Linked DNA regions of Homo sapiens: region 2 is linked to region 1. The links are contacts of gene promoters, found by promoter capture Hi-C in blood cells and fetal thymus (Javierre and others, 2016). All regions are on one chromosome and are shown on one strand. Each heading gives the region's core, a stretch centred on a gene start or on the middle of the fragment in contact. The rest is flanking DNA. Distances are from core to core; before and after follow the strand shown.

Evidence for each region. The method cuts DNA at HindIII sites, captures the fragments that hold promoters and counts their contacts. A CHiCAGO score of 5 or more calls a contact.
Region 2: a fragment that was not itself captured here is called in contact with the fragment with the promoter of CNBD1 in region 1 in 1 of 17 cell types (M2 macrophages); the score reaches 6.9 in M2 macrophages.

Annotation. Positions count from the first base shown.
Region 1 is chr8:86,862,815-86,868,877 of GRCh38, reverse strand. It overlaps CNBD1 (cyclic nucleotide binding domain containing 1), which reads right to left and starts at 2,463. Exons shown (of 11, transcript NM_173538.3): 1 at 2,295-2,463. The coding sequence starts at 2,382. The HindIII fragment of the contact is 11,844 bases long and covers 1-6,063 here.
Region 2 is chr8:89,608,373-89,614,435 of GRCh38, reverse strand. No RefSeq gene overlaps it. Among named protein-coding and RNA genes, the nearest start is that of PARAIL, 150 kb to the left of the region's middle. RefSeq lists an enhancer at 1,630-2,829. The HindIII fragment of the contact is 1,844 bases long and covers 1,560-3,403 here.

The DNA of each region.
Region 1 (6,063 bases), core at 1,214-3,713:
CCCATCTCAAGTGGAGCCAATTAGCTGCTTTAATTGCATGTGCAGCCTCAATTCCCCCTAACATGTAGTATAACCTATTCATAAGTTTTGTGAATTAAGGCATGGATATCACTGGGACCGTTAATTCTGTCCACCGAAGACATAGAGTTCTTGTAAGAAATACATGAAATAACATAACGTGCTAAATGTTTACATACTAACTACAGAAAGCACTCAATTAACAATATTCACATATAAATACAGACAGCCGGGGCGTGGTAGCTCACGCCTGTAAATCCTAGCACTTTGGGAGGCTGAGGGGGGCAGATCACGAGGTGAGGAGATAGAGACCAGCCTGGCCAACACAGTGAAACCCCATCTCTACTAAAAATACAAAAATTAGCCAGGCACACCTGTAGTCCCAGCTACTCAAGAGGCTGAGGCAGGATAATCGCTTGAACCCAGGAGGCGGAGGTTGTGGTGAGCTGAGATCGTGCCACTGCACTCCAGCCTGGGCAACAGAGCAAGACTTCATCTCAAAAATAAATAAAAATGAATAAATAAATAAATAAATACTTACAGAGAAGGTGAATATGAGTCACTAAATCCAACCTAACTCAACAAATACAAAGTATCAAGGATGTATACAATGGCTGGATTTTCTTTTTAGGTATGTAAATGTGCATTCCTATTTATGCCCACTGCATTTAAAACTCATTTATATATCCTTTGTAATTCAGGTTCAGTCATTTCATAAATTGAAAGCATTCATTACACATTGGCTTCCATGAGATCATTGTTTCAGCAGTGAGACAATCAGTGCTTGCTAAGGAAAATTATTGTCTTGCTACAGTTAGCAAAAAGACACAGTTATTAAGGCAAGCAGGGCACGTCCTCAAAGAGAAGTTGCAGACATAGAAACATCAAGTGCGAACCTCTAAAGGAACACTGGGAGCTCCACCGCTTTCCATTATGCTCTATTCAGTTCTGAGATCTAAATTGCTGCTGATTTTTCGTCTTTTAATCACTTCACAGAAGTTAAGTGTCCTTGGGAGGCACTACAGAGGGTAGCACAAATCTCATCTCATTGATTCTAAATTAATTTGATCTTTTAACTCCCAGCTACCGAGTTTCCTGGGCTTTTTAAAAATATTATTTTATGGTGACTTTTATTTTCTTTTTCACAAATAAAACATGAATAGTAGAAGCTGTGTTTCTTCAGCAAAATTGCACTTAATTCTTATTTCCACTCAAGTAGAAATAGAAAACTTTGACCAGATGCAAGATTATTTTCACTATAATACAAATGGAATTAATTTTGTTTAACATAAGGATTTTGTCTAACACTATTCAAGACATCAGTGTACCCCTTCAAGGAGTATCAACTGCCACCTGTTATACCTTTTAACCTGGAGACTATGAGCATTAATTTTTTAAAATGTATTTGGAGAAATTAACTTTCACAGGAAGGGAAAAGGATGGATGGCTTAGCTTCTTCAAATCAATACTATAAATCTGCCCAATGAATAATAAAATAAGAGTTAATGCTTTATTGAAGTTGAAAAGGATCACAAGTATTACCTTTGTTATCCAGATATTTTTTAAAAATCTTAACTAACACTGGAACTCATACATATTGCTAGTCAGAATGATGGTGTTCAAATAATAGATCTTATAAATTCGATGGCCATGAGAAGTGTTTACAATCTTAAGAAAACGTTATAGGTTTAGACTAATTACATAAAATGAGAAAATACTGTCAATTATATAAACTTTGAAATATCTAGTTCTATACTTAATTCTTATAAGTAAGACTAGAAAATAAAAAAGTTAAATAGGAATAAATTTCACAGTCAGAATAGTAGGAATTATCTTTTTTTCCTTGTCAAATTGAAATGAGAATTCTCCTAGAGAATATTAAGTATTAATTATCCCATTAAGCGTAGTAGGACCAACTCTTGGTAGGGAGTAGAAGATCTGCTAGAAAAAGGAACCTGATAGCTGGTGGAACATGTGGCCTCTCTAAATCTTTGTTTTCTTTCATCTTTAGAAATATTTCAATGTATCTGAAGCTCTAAGAGTTCGTAAAGATCCTCATTTTACAGAGAAAAAATACTTAAGACCTAGAGTACTGAAATGACTTCAAGTAGACCAAGCAGGATTTACACATCTATGTTCTTTCCATTCTTCAGCACTGTCAATAAGATTCCCAATGTCCCTATCAACCCTGAAATACCCCCAATTTTCATAGCTGGGGTAAGAACCGCTGAAAACAATGGTAGGTGAATAAGAGCATCAAAGTATTTCCCACTCACTTGGTATACTGTGAAGTGGAGGAGGAGGCACATTGTTAATAGCTGTCATGTGAGACAAAATAGCTGCTGGAAGAGAAGACATCGGCATCTTGATGGCTCAAAGGCAGATAGATGACCAGAGGCTGCTTGAGAGGCAAATGATCACTCTTTGCCTGCAGGCTCATAAAGCAGAACTTCAAGGTCCTCTCTGATAGGTTGAATCCTACGGAATCTTCTTGTTCATAGTTCTTATCCATTGTTTGTGCATTTCCAAGAGTGTCATCTAGACCAGGAAGAACTATGCTACATTTTAGTCCAGTGGAAATCATAAGGAGGACTTTATGAGCTATAGAGAGTAGCAATAATGAAGAAGGAAACTGTAGCCCACAAGGCTGATACAGCAGAATCAACAGCACTCATGAGTCTAGGTGAAATGAAAGTATTCACTTCCTTGGTCTTCCATAGTCCAGAGCCCTTTTCCTGCCTACCAAATGTTTACACTGGGTATCACAGGCCCTTTCTGTACCAGCAGTAACAGAGATAGCATATTTATACTGTTCTTCATGGCCACATTTATAGGGTAAACCATCCCTTCTAATTATCATACACCAATAAACCCACCCCAGCTTACATTTAACTATATTCTGCTAGAGTGTGGAACATGTTTTTTTGTTATTTTCTGCTGCTTCACAATAATTAAGGATAGTTACAATGGCTAGGGTTTACAATCCTAACTAATGTATCTTTTGATGCTGTGTATTATCTTCCAAGGCCTTTAGAAATAGGGTCCTGGTATCATAACTGTTAGAGTGATACGGACAGGAGACAGGGAAACACTGGGTAGAAGAGGGCAGTTCCCCAGTAAAGGCCCCACCCTCAAGCCTGGAGACCTGCGGCCCTAGATTGGGACAGGCATTCCTGTTTTTGCACCTAAAAAGTTGCCTTTTGGCCTGCAACACACCCTATCCTGTACCCATATAAACCCTGAATCCCAGGCTCCAGAAGCAGACGAAGAGATGAGACAAATAGATGAATGGCAGAATGACAGGCAGAGAAAGTGAGAAAAGGAGGAACATCTGAACACTGAGAGGAGTTCAGCCACTGTACGGCCAAACTCCAGGGGAAGATCATTTTCCCACTCCATCCCCCTTCCAGCTCCCCATCCATCCTGCTGAGAGCCACCTCCACCACTCAATAAAACCCTGAGTTCTTCCTTCAAGCCCATGTGTGACCCAGTACTTCTGGGATGCTGGGCAAGAATTCAGGATACAGAAAGCTATCACACTGGCCCTCTACCCTTGTGAAAAGGCAGAGGGTCCATTGAGCTTGTTAACATCAAGCCATCCATGGAGGGTAGGGCTACAAGGGCACACTGCAACACAATGCCCACTTGGGCTCCTGCACCTGTCCGTCTGTGTGCTCCCCCTCCCCACAGGGTTTGAGCAGCAGCGATGACCAACCAAGCAGGCAAACCACAGCCCTGTCACACATTCTGTGAGGGGAATCAGGGAACTCCCCCATTTCATCAGGTAATATACAAAAGGACTGTGGCTGTCTGATACCTGAACTGGACTAGCAGAGTGTAAACCAACCATTTCTGGAGCAACTTCATCTAGATAACATTAATAACTAGAATAGAAAACATTAATTATGTTACAAAAGTAACAAATTTATTTTGCAACAGTTTCTATTAAATTATATCTGCACAATAAATTTACTCAGGTTATAACTTTTCAATTGAATGTATTTTCCTATTTCCAGTTTTACAAACTCCAAACTCACCATAGACTCAATTTTGTTGTTGAGTCTCATCACTATTGTTTTTTTTTTTTCTGGAGACCAAGTCTCACTCTGTCACCCAGGCTGGAGTGCAGTGGCTCAATTCTGACTCATTCCAACCTCCACCTCCCGGGTTCAAGTGATTCTCCTGCCTCAGCCTCCCGGGTAGCTGGGATTACAGGCAGGTGCCACCACGCCCAGCTGATTTTGTATATTTAGTAGAGACACGGTTTCACCATGTTAGCCAGGCTGATCTTGAACTCCCGACCTCTGGTGATCTGCCTGCCTTGGTCTCCCAAAGTGCTAGGATTACAGGCATGAACCACCACACCCGGCCACATCACTATTCTTCATCTTGCATTCCTTCCACACTAGCCACCTGCCTAGCTCCCACTTCAGAATGGTTCCTTGCCATTCCAACTGTCCCCTTGTTGGTAATCCCTACTGCCATCATTCCACAGGTTTTCTAGATCCATTCTCTTCCTAGTCGCACATTTAAAACCCAAAGAAATGAAGACGTGAATTTTTCATGGATGTTAAGCAGAAGGGACTATATAAAATGCTTTTTTTCTCTGACGAACAGTTCTAATCAAACAAATGTAAGAGAGGAAGTTTCCTAAGGCCCTAAAATTGTGATGACCGATTTCCTCTCTGATTCCAAGTTAGCAGTTCTTATTTTTATTTATTTTCTAGTTATCTTCCTGCTTTTCCATATTTTCACCTTTCTCTTTTCTGTATTTCATATGTAATAAACTTTACACACTGAATGCCATATAATATCGTAGTTCATATCAACCTGGACCTTGCTTGAAAATAATTTTAAAGAAAAAATGAGAAGTGACAATGCAAGTAAACAAGAACATTAAGGAGTAAATAGCAAAATAAACAACTAAAATAGCTTACTGAATTTTATCTAAGTCTCTGTAATATTCATAATTGCGTGTGAGCATCTGCTAGTACCTGCTGATATATGTCCAGAGAAAATCCATCAAATCACAAATTCAGCTCTCCTAAATGTTTTTTGCTAGGCTTTTCAATGTATTCTGAATTCTTTTGAAATTCATTCAAAGAATAATAACATAATCACACAATTTGTCTTTGAGAGATAGCTGTATTACATTGTTTACCAATGCCTGGACAGTAAAGTCTAATTGTTTCCCAACCACTTACTTACAAAATTATCTTGGAGAAGTCACTTAATCCACCTTGGCCTCAATATCCTGATCTATGCAGGGGTAATGATAATACCTCATACAAATATTATGAATATTAAATAATGAAAAAAGGTCCTAGCACAGTACCTATAGTAATAACTCCATTTTTATTAGTAATATTACTATTGCTGAAGTAAACTTTGAAAAACTCATATGGATTAAATATTTTTAATACTTTAGTAAAAGACAAAAAGATAAAGTCATTCTGAAGAGAAACCAGAGCATAAATATTTTTAATACTTTAAATATTTTTTTAAAAGTATATTTAATATGAGTTCCATTTATTCCTGCTACACAGTCACCAGTAGTATATTACAGGTTCATTTTTCAGGATGTACCTTAAGTATTCATTCTGTATTGCAAAAACCAATAATAATAATAACGAAATTTACCATGACACTATTTCTAGATACTATTCTAGTGTCTATTAACATTTCTAGACACTATTAACATATTTAATATATCAAATATGCCCTATTTTGATTTTGAGTGTTTAATTCTGGTATTATATTTTTAACTCTATTTATTAGAAAAGATATGTCAAATTAAGATAACTGGCATAATTTTATTAAGAGATCTCAAAAGATTTTCCAAAACAATGTCCCTGTTGGTCTGAAGATACACAAGTATAACATATGTTATACCCAAGTCATTTCACTGGATAAATGTTAACTAAGCATAGTTCCAATGCTTTTATAACCCGTAGCTGATGCATGTAATGTTTAAATGGCAAAGCCCAAAGAGACAACAAGCAAAAGTCCAAAACTTCTCCTGAGCACTGGCAGATAGGCTCTCAG
Region 2 (6,063 bases), core at 1,232-3,731, 2.7 Mb before region 1:
GAGGCTGGGGTCAAACTTACTAGATCAAATGCTCTTTAAATTTGGAGAGATAAGCATAGCTCAGTGAAGGACAGAGTTACTCAACTCAATTCCAGCCAGAAAACTTACTGAATACCTACTATGACAATTTGGGATATTGCTGTGGGGGAATATACATATAATTAGTACATAGTCCCTGGTTTCAAGACGATTACAGTCTAGGGAGAAAGACATGTACACAACTTACTGAAAACGAGATAATACATGACAAGTGCTGTATTTTCCATTTAATTATTTTAATATACACTCATCAAATGTGTCATGGTCTGTATTAGGTGCTGAGGATTCAGTGATGGACAAAGCCATAAGCAACCTGTCCTCAAGGGGCTTACCTGTTGTTGGAAGGAGACAGATGAGAACATAAAGGAAATATACACATAAAATAATTTGAGATGTTGATAGTGACGGGTGCTAGAAAAAAATTTAGGAAGTTTTTTGGCAGTGAGTTGGTGTTGGCTATTTTCAGTGGAGTGCTCTTCTGAGGGCCTGAACAAGTCAGTCATGTTAGTTTGTGAGGGAAGAATAATCCAGGCAGAGGGAGTAGGGCAGAGCAGGTAGGGCAAAGACCATAGGGTGAGGATGACATTGGAGTTTTACAGAATAAAAATGAGATTGTATGACAGGAACATAGAGAGCGAGAAGAAGAGTGGTACAAGTGAGATCTAGAGATGAAGGCAGGAGCCAGAAAAATGCAGAGCCTTGTATAATACACTTAGAAGTACCTAATCTATCATTCTGAATTTAGAGGAAGCTCACAAAATTTAAGCAGAGAAAATATATTATTTGATGGTTTTGTAAAAAAGATCACACTGGTCGCTATGATGAAATGTAATGTGTACATCATGCACAAAGAAGAGAAAGAGTAACATTACTTTGAAAAAGTTAGGGGACGGAGCCAGGCGCAGTGGTGTGCACCTGTAGTCCAGGTTGAGGCAGGAGGACTGCTTGAGCTCAGGAATTTGAGGCTGTAGTGCACTATGAGTGTGCTTGTGAATAGCTAGTGCACACCAGTTGGGCAATATAGCAAGACTCCGTCTTTGAAAAAGTAAAGTTGGGGAAGCATTGAGAAGGAAGAAGTGCTCTGAGCAATGAGATGGGCATGTTTGGGCAACAGTGAGTTTTCCAGTGTGGCTAGAGCATCCAAAATGTGGGGAGGATGTAATGAGAGGGAATCAGGAAGGAAGGTGGCTATCAGGTTATGTCTTGATAACATTCTGTAGGCAGCTGGAAACTGATCTTTGTTTTGGAAAGATAATGTTGGTGACTCTGTGAAGGATATTAGAGGAGGCAAGAAGACCATTGATGAGGTTCCTGCAATAGGTCATTTGAGAGGGCCAAGTAGTGACAATGAGAAAGAGAAGACAGAAACAAGAGCTGCTGACATGGAGAGCTGACAGCACTTGGTGATGAACTGGGTATCTGTGGTGAGGGGAGGGAGAACCTGAAGACATCTGCAAGGCAAGCTGGGGGCGCCCTTTTCTATGAGAGGAAAGTTGGAGGATAGGGTAGAGCTTTAAGCTTTGAACCAGCTGAATGTGAGTTTTTGGCAGGACCGCCACATGATGCTGCTGGAGAGACAGCGGGAAAAGCAGAGCCGGAGCTCAGGTAGTTTGGCCTTTAAGAGCACACCTATTCCAACTAATTTCTTCTAATCTGTGAAAAATTTTGTGAATTTTAAGATATTCGCTATTTTCAAGAAGACAGAAGTTTCACGAGTGTTTGTCATAATCAAGTGGCATTTTCTACCAAAGGAAAGGTTTTCTTCTTTAAAAAAACAGAACATTCGGTAAAAAGAAAGCTGGTTGATGATTTTGGCTTCCTTTTCTTACTTTGGAAATGGAGTTATCAGACTTGTTCAGCCCCAAGGAATAAAATTAGGGAAGATCGTTATACAACCTTAGTGTTATAAGGAAAAGAAGCCTTGTTAAAATAATGAAGAAGTAGACAATCTCTTATATCCCTGCAGGAGGTATTAGGAGAGAGTAGAAGAAAGCAACTTTTTTCTTAAAGTTTATGTTTGATTATTCTGATAGTTCTTGCAAAATACCGGACACAAAAGACTAGGTCTGGGGGCAATAAAAATTGCTAGATGAGAAAAAAATATGTCAGTAAGAGAAAAAGAGACTTAAAATGTTTGAATTGGAAATCATTAGTTGTCTGCAGTGCCAAGTTGAATAAACTAAAAAGCAAAATGGAAGACTTATGTTCAGTCCCAATCACAGCATGAGTAGGAGCCTTATTCTCTCGGTTTCTTCTTCTCAGTTGTATAATCATGTCTTTGTTAACAGTTACATTTCCTACTCACGAGCCAGGAAATACCTTCTTTGCTGATACTAATGTGAAAGTATGGAGCCAGTCGTGTGGAGACAACAAAGGTCATTTTTAATTGCTATCTCTCATGTCTCAGGACTGCATCATTGCTTACCCAACATGACTCAGCCTCGGTATTGCCACTGACTCACGGAGCTCCTAATAGAGGAGAATTAGTGTCACAGATCGACTGGAAAACCAATCCACATGAAGCCAGGAAGAGAAATGAAGCTGCTGTTGCTGAATCCATAGCTGGCCTTAATGATGCTGGCTAGGAAAGACGGCCCATTCTGGGGGAGATAAGTCAATTTTGCAGTGTCTGTTATTATCATAGTGACTATTGTCTTCCTGTTTTATATTTATTTACCTAAATTGTTTTGGAAAGACTCAGAGGTATAGAGACATGCCTACTTTTTGCAAAAATCATCACACTGTCATGGAGGTAGTCCAGGCTATGGGGCTCTTATTTGTTGGTGTCTTGGGCAAGTTGCTTGACCTCTGATCATTGTTTGCTTATTCTTATATGGCCCCTGTATTTCAGACTCACTCTGTGTCAGGCATTTGTTTACCTTTGTAGCAAGCTCAGGAGGAAAATACCATTGCCCTTGTTTTACAGGTGATGAAACTGTACGTTTTCCAAGGACACAGTGCTAGTAAGTAATGAATGTGAAATTTTAACTGTTTCAATCTCTTCTCAGAGCCAGTGCTAACTACTCTCCTAAACTTCCTCTCATCTGTAAAATATGGATGATAATAACACCTCTTACAGAGTTGTTGTACATATTAAATAATAGAACTGTGAAATGTGTAGTACTTCATTACGCATTAGGCAATCAATAAATGGTTGATAGTATTACTAAAAATAATGAAGAAAAATCTTCACTAAAGCATCCATAGCAGGAAGTCCTTGCTAGAACATAACCCTTTGTCCTTTCAGTGTAAATTAGTGTGATGTTACCAGCACTTACAGCAGATGGTAAGGAACACAATACAAAGGAATGAATCTCTAGTAGTGAAATGTCAGATACTATAACATTTGGATGGAAAACAAGCTTTTGTACATGTTTGAATCATCTTGCTAACTACCGTATCATTTCATGTTGACCTAGCATCCTTTTCCTTTAGTAAGATTGCCCTAATAAAAACAAAGCAATCGAGTTCCAAAGTAAGTGGAGTCTATACGGATCTGAGGGAGGCTGAGGTACCAGAATAAGTTTGTGAAACACTAATTTAGGATAACAAAATACAGTTCCTGATAGCTGTTGTAAATTTTATGTAAACAAATGCAATTAACATGAGAAAAAAACAGGAGTAAGCAGTTTCTAGGTTTTTACAGAATAGCAGCTACAGGGCAAGTATTGTTCTAGAAAAGTCCTGGTCAGGACACCTAAAGCGGAATAAAAAGGAGTGTGGTTTGGCCATATAGATCACTTGTGCTTAGACATTTATAAAGCCAACAAAACAGAAACAAAGATATGTTGCTTCTAATGAGAAGGGGCATCAATTTATGGCTTTGTGTAAGAAAGACTAACCATATTAGATTGTGGCCTTGAGAATAGGGAGAGTATCTTATTCACCCTTTTTTACCTAGAAAGATGTTCACTTTACCATCCCTGTCAGGTGCAAAGTGAACAACTAAGTAATTCTAAGGAAAACTACAGAGTGGAAATAATGAAGATAAAATGCATCATCAATCTATTAAAAAATAGATACAAGAGTTTATAAAGTTTAGCTTCTGATTATTGACCATTTCCTTTATTACTGCATGACACACAAAAAAGCCAAATTCATTTTTTACCAAATTGGGATAAAGATACATTTGGGATGATTTAATTTAATACACAACCTATGTCACAGCATAAATAATTTGATGTATGAATGGAGCCAGGGGCACCACAAAAATACACGCAGACTTTTTTTTATTTTTATTATTTAAGAGATAGGGTCTCACTTTGTTGCCCAGGCTGGAGTGCAGTGATGCAATCATAGCTCACTGCAGCCTCAAATTCCTAGGCTCAAGGGATCCTCCTGCTGCAGCTTCCTGAATAGCTGGCACTTCAAGCATGTGCCACCATACCTGGCTAATTTAAAACCAAAATCTTTTGTAGAGACAGAGTCACCATGTTGACCAGGCTGGTCTAGAACTCTTGGCCTCAAGTGATCCTCTTTCCTTGACCTCCCAAAGTTCTGGGATTATAAGTGTGAGCCACTGCACCTGGCCAGACATTTTATACAGCAGCAGACATTAGATATTATGGCAAATCTATGTGACTACAATTTGAATTAAGACACAGTGGACACTAGAAAACAGCAAGGGTTCCAAAAATATGTGCCCAAATAGAAATAATGAAAGCAGACTTTCCAAACAGTAGGCAGTGATGTGCAGTTAACTTGCTTCTCATGTGGATAATTCTATGTAGCATGCTCCAGAGTATCAGGATTTATTCTTCTGTCCCCCAGACATTAGAACTAAAAATATGGCACAAAACTCTTATTTCAAAGCAGAATTTTAAAGACCAGAATTAATTACTATACTTGTAGAAAATTATTATAACACTCATGTTATTTTTTAAAATTAAACTTTTGTTGAAGGTATGAATGAATAATAATGGGGTTGTCTATGAAGAGGAGAGAATGAAAAAGCTCAGCTTACCAAGATGAATGCTCCTCTGATCTTGTCTTGATGGGCTAAAGCCTTGAAGATTGCTATTGGGAAACTTGACCCAGTTGGCTGCCAAAGGACAACACATCAGGCTGCAGATCATCAAACAGGGTTCTGAGCTGCATCCCCTGGGGCATCCCCTAGTGCACAAAACAATAAAAATCAAGGAGGACAGATGCCCTTTGTGTTTTGTATCTGGTCAACAGTGGGGTATCTAAAGACAGATGAGTATCTTGGATGGAAGCAATCACAAGATTGAATTCCAAATCTTAAGGGAACAGAGGAGAGACAGGAGAAAGTTAAAGAAAGCAGTTGCATTTTTCCAGGTTCACAGCACAAATAGAAAGAATTTGATTGCAGTGAAGTTCAAGGAAAAAGGAGTTTAGGGAAGCTGGTTAGTGTATGGAAATATCATCTCTTAGGACTAGGTACAAGAGATTCCAGAGTATAGAATGTAAAGGAGCATAACAACACCAAATGGCTTTTGTTGTTGTTGTTGAGACAGGGTCTTGCTGTGTTGCCCATGATGGATGGAGTACAGTGGTATGATAACAGCTTACTGTAGCCTTGACCTTCTGGGCTCAAGTGATGCTCCTACCTACCTCAGCCTCCCAAGTAGCTGGGACCACAGGCATGCACCAGCATGCTGGCTAATTTTTACATTTTGTGTAGAGATGGGGTCTCACTGTTGTTGCCCAGAATGGTCTTGAACTCCTGGACTCAAGTGATCCTCCCACCTTGGCCTCCCAAAGTGTTGAGATTGTAGGTGTGAGCCACTGTGCCTAGTGGCTTATTTCATTCTATTACTAGCCCAGGCAGATAGGAACTTTTATTATACTCATGCATAACTGTTGGGACTGGGGTTCAAAGAAGCTAGAAAACTTGTCTAGGGTCACATGGTTAGAAGGGGCTCGACTCCATCAGTACTCTTAATTGCTTAATAATACCTACCTCAAAGATTATGAGGTTTAAAGTGTTATCAATGTAGGAAAAAAATCACCATTTTTTAGTTCTTTACAATAAACAAGAGCTCAATGGTTAGGCAGTTAATT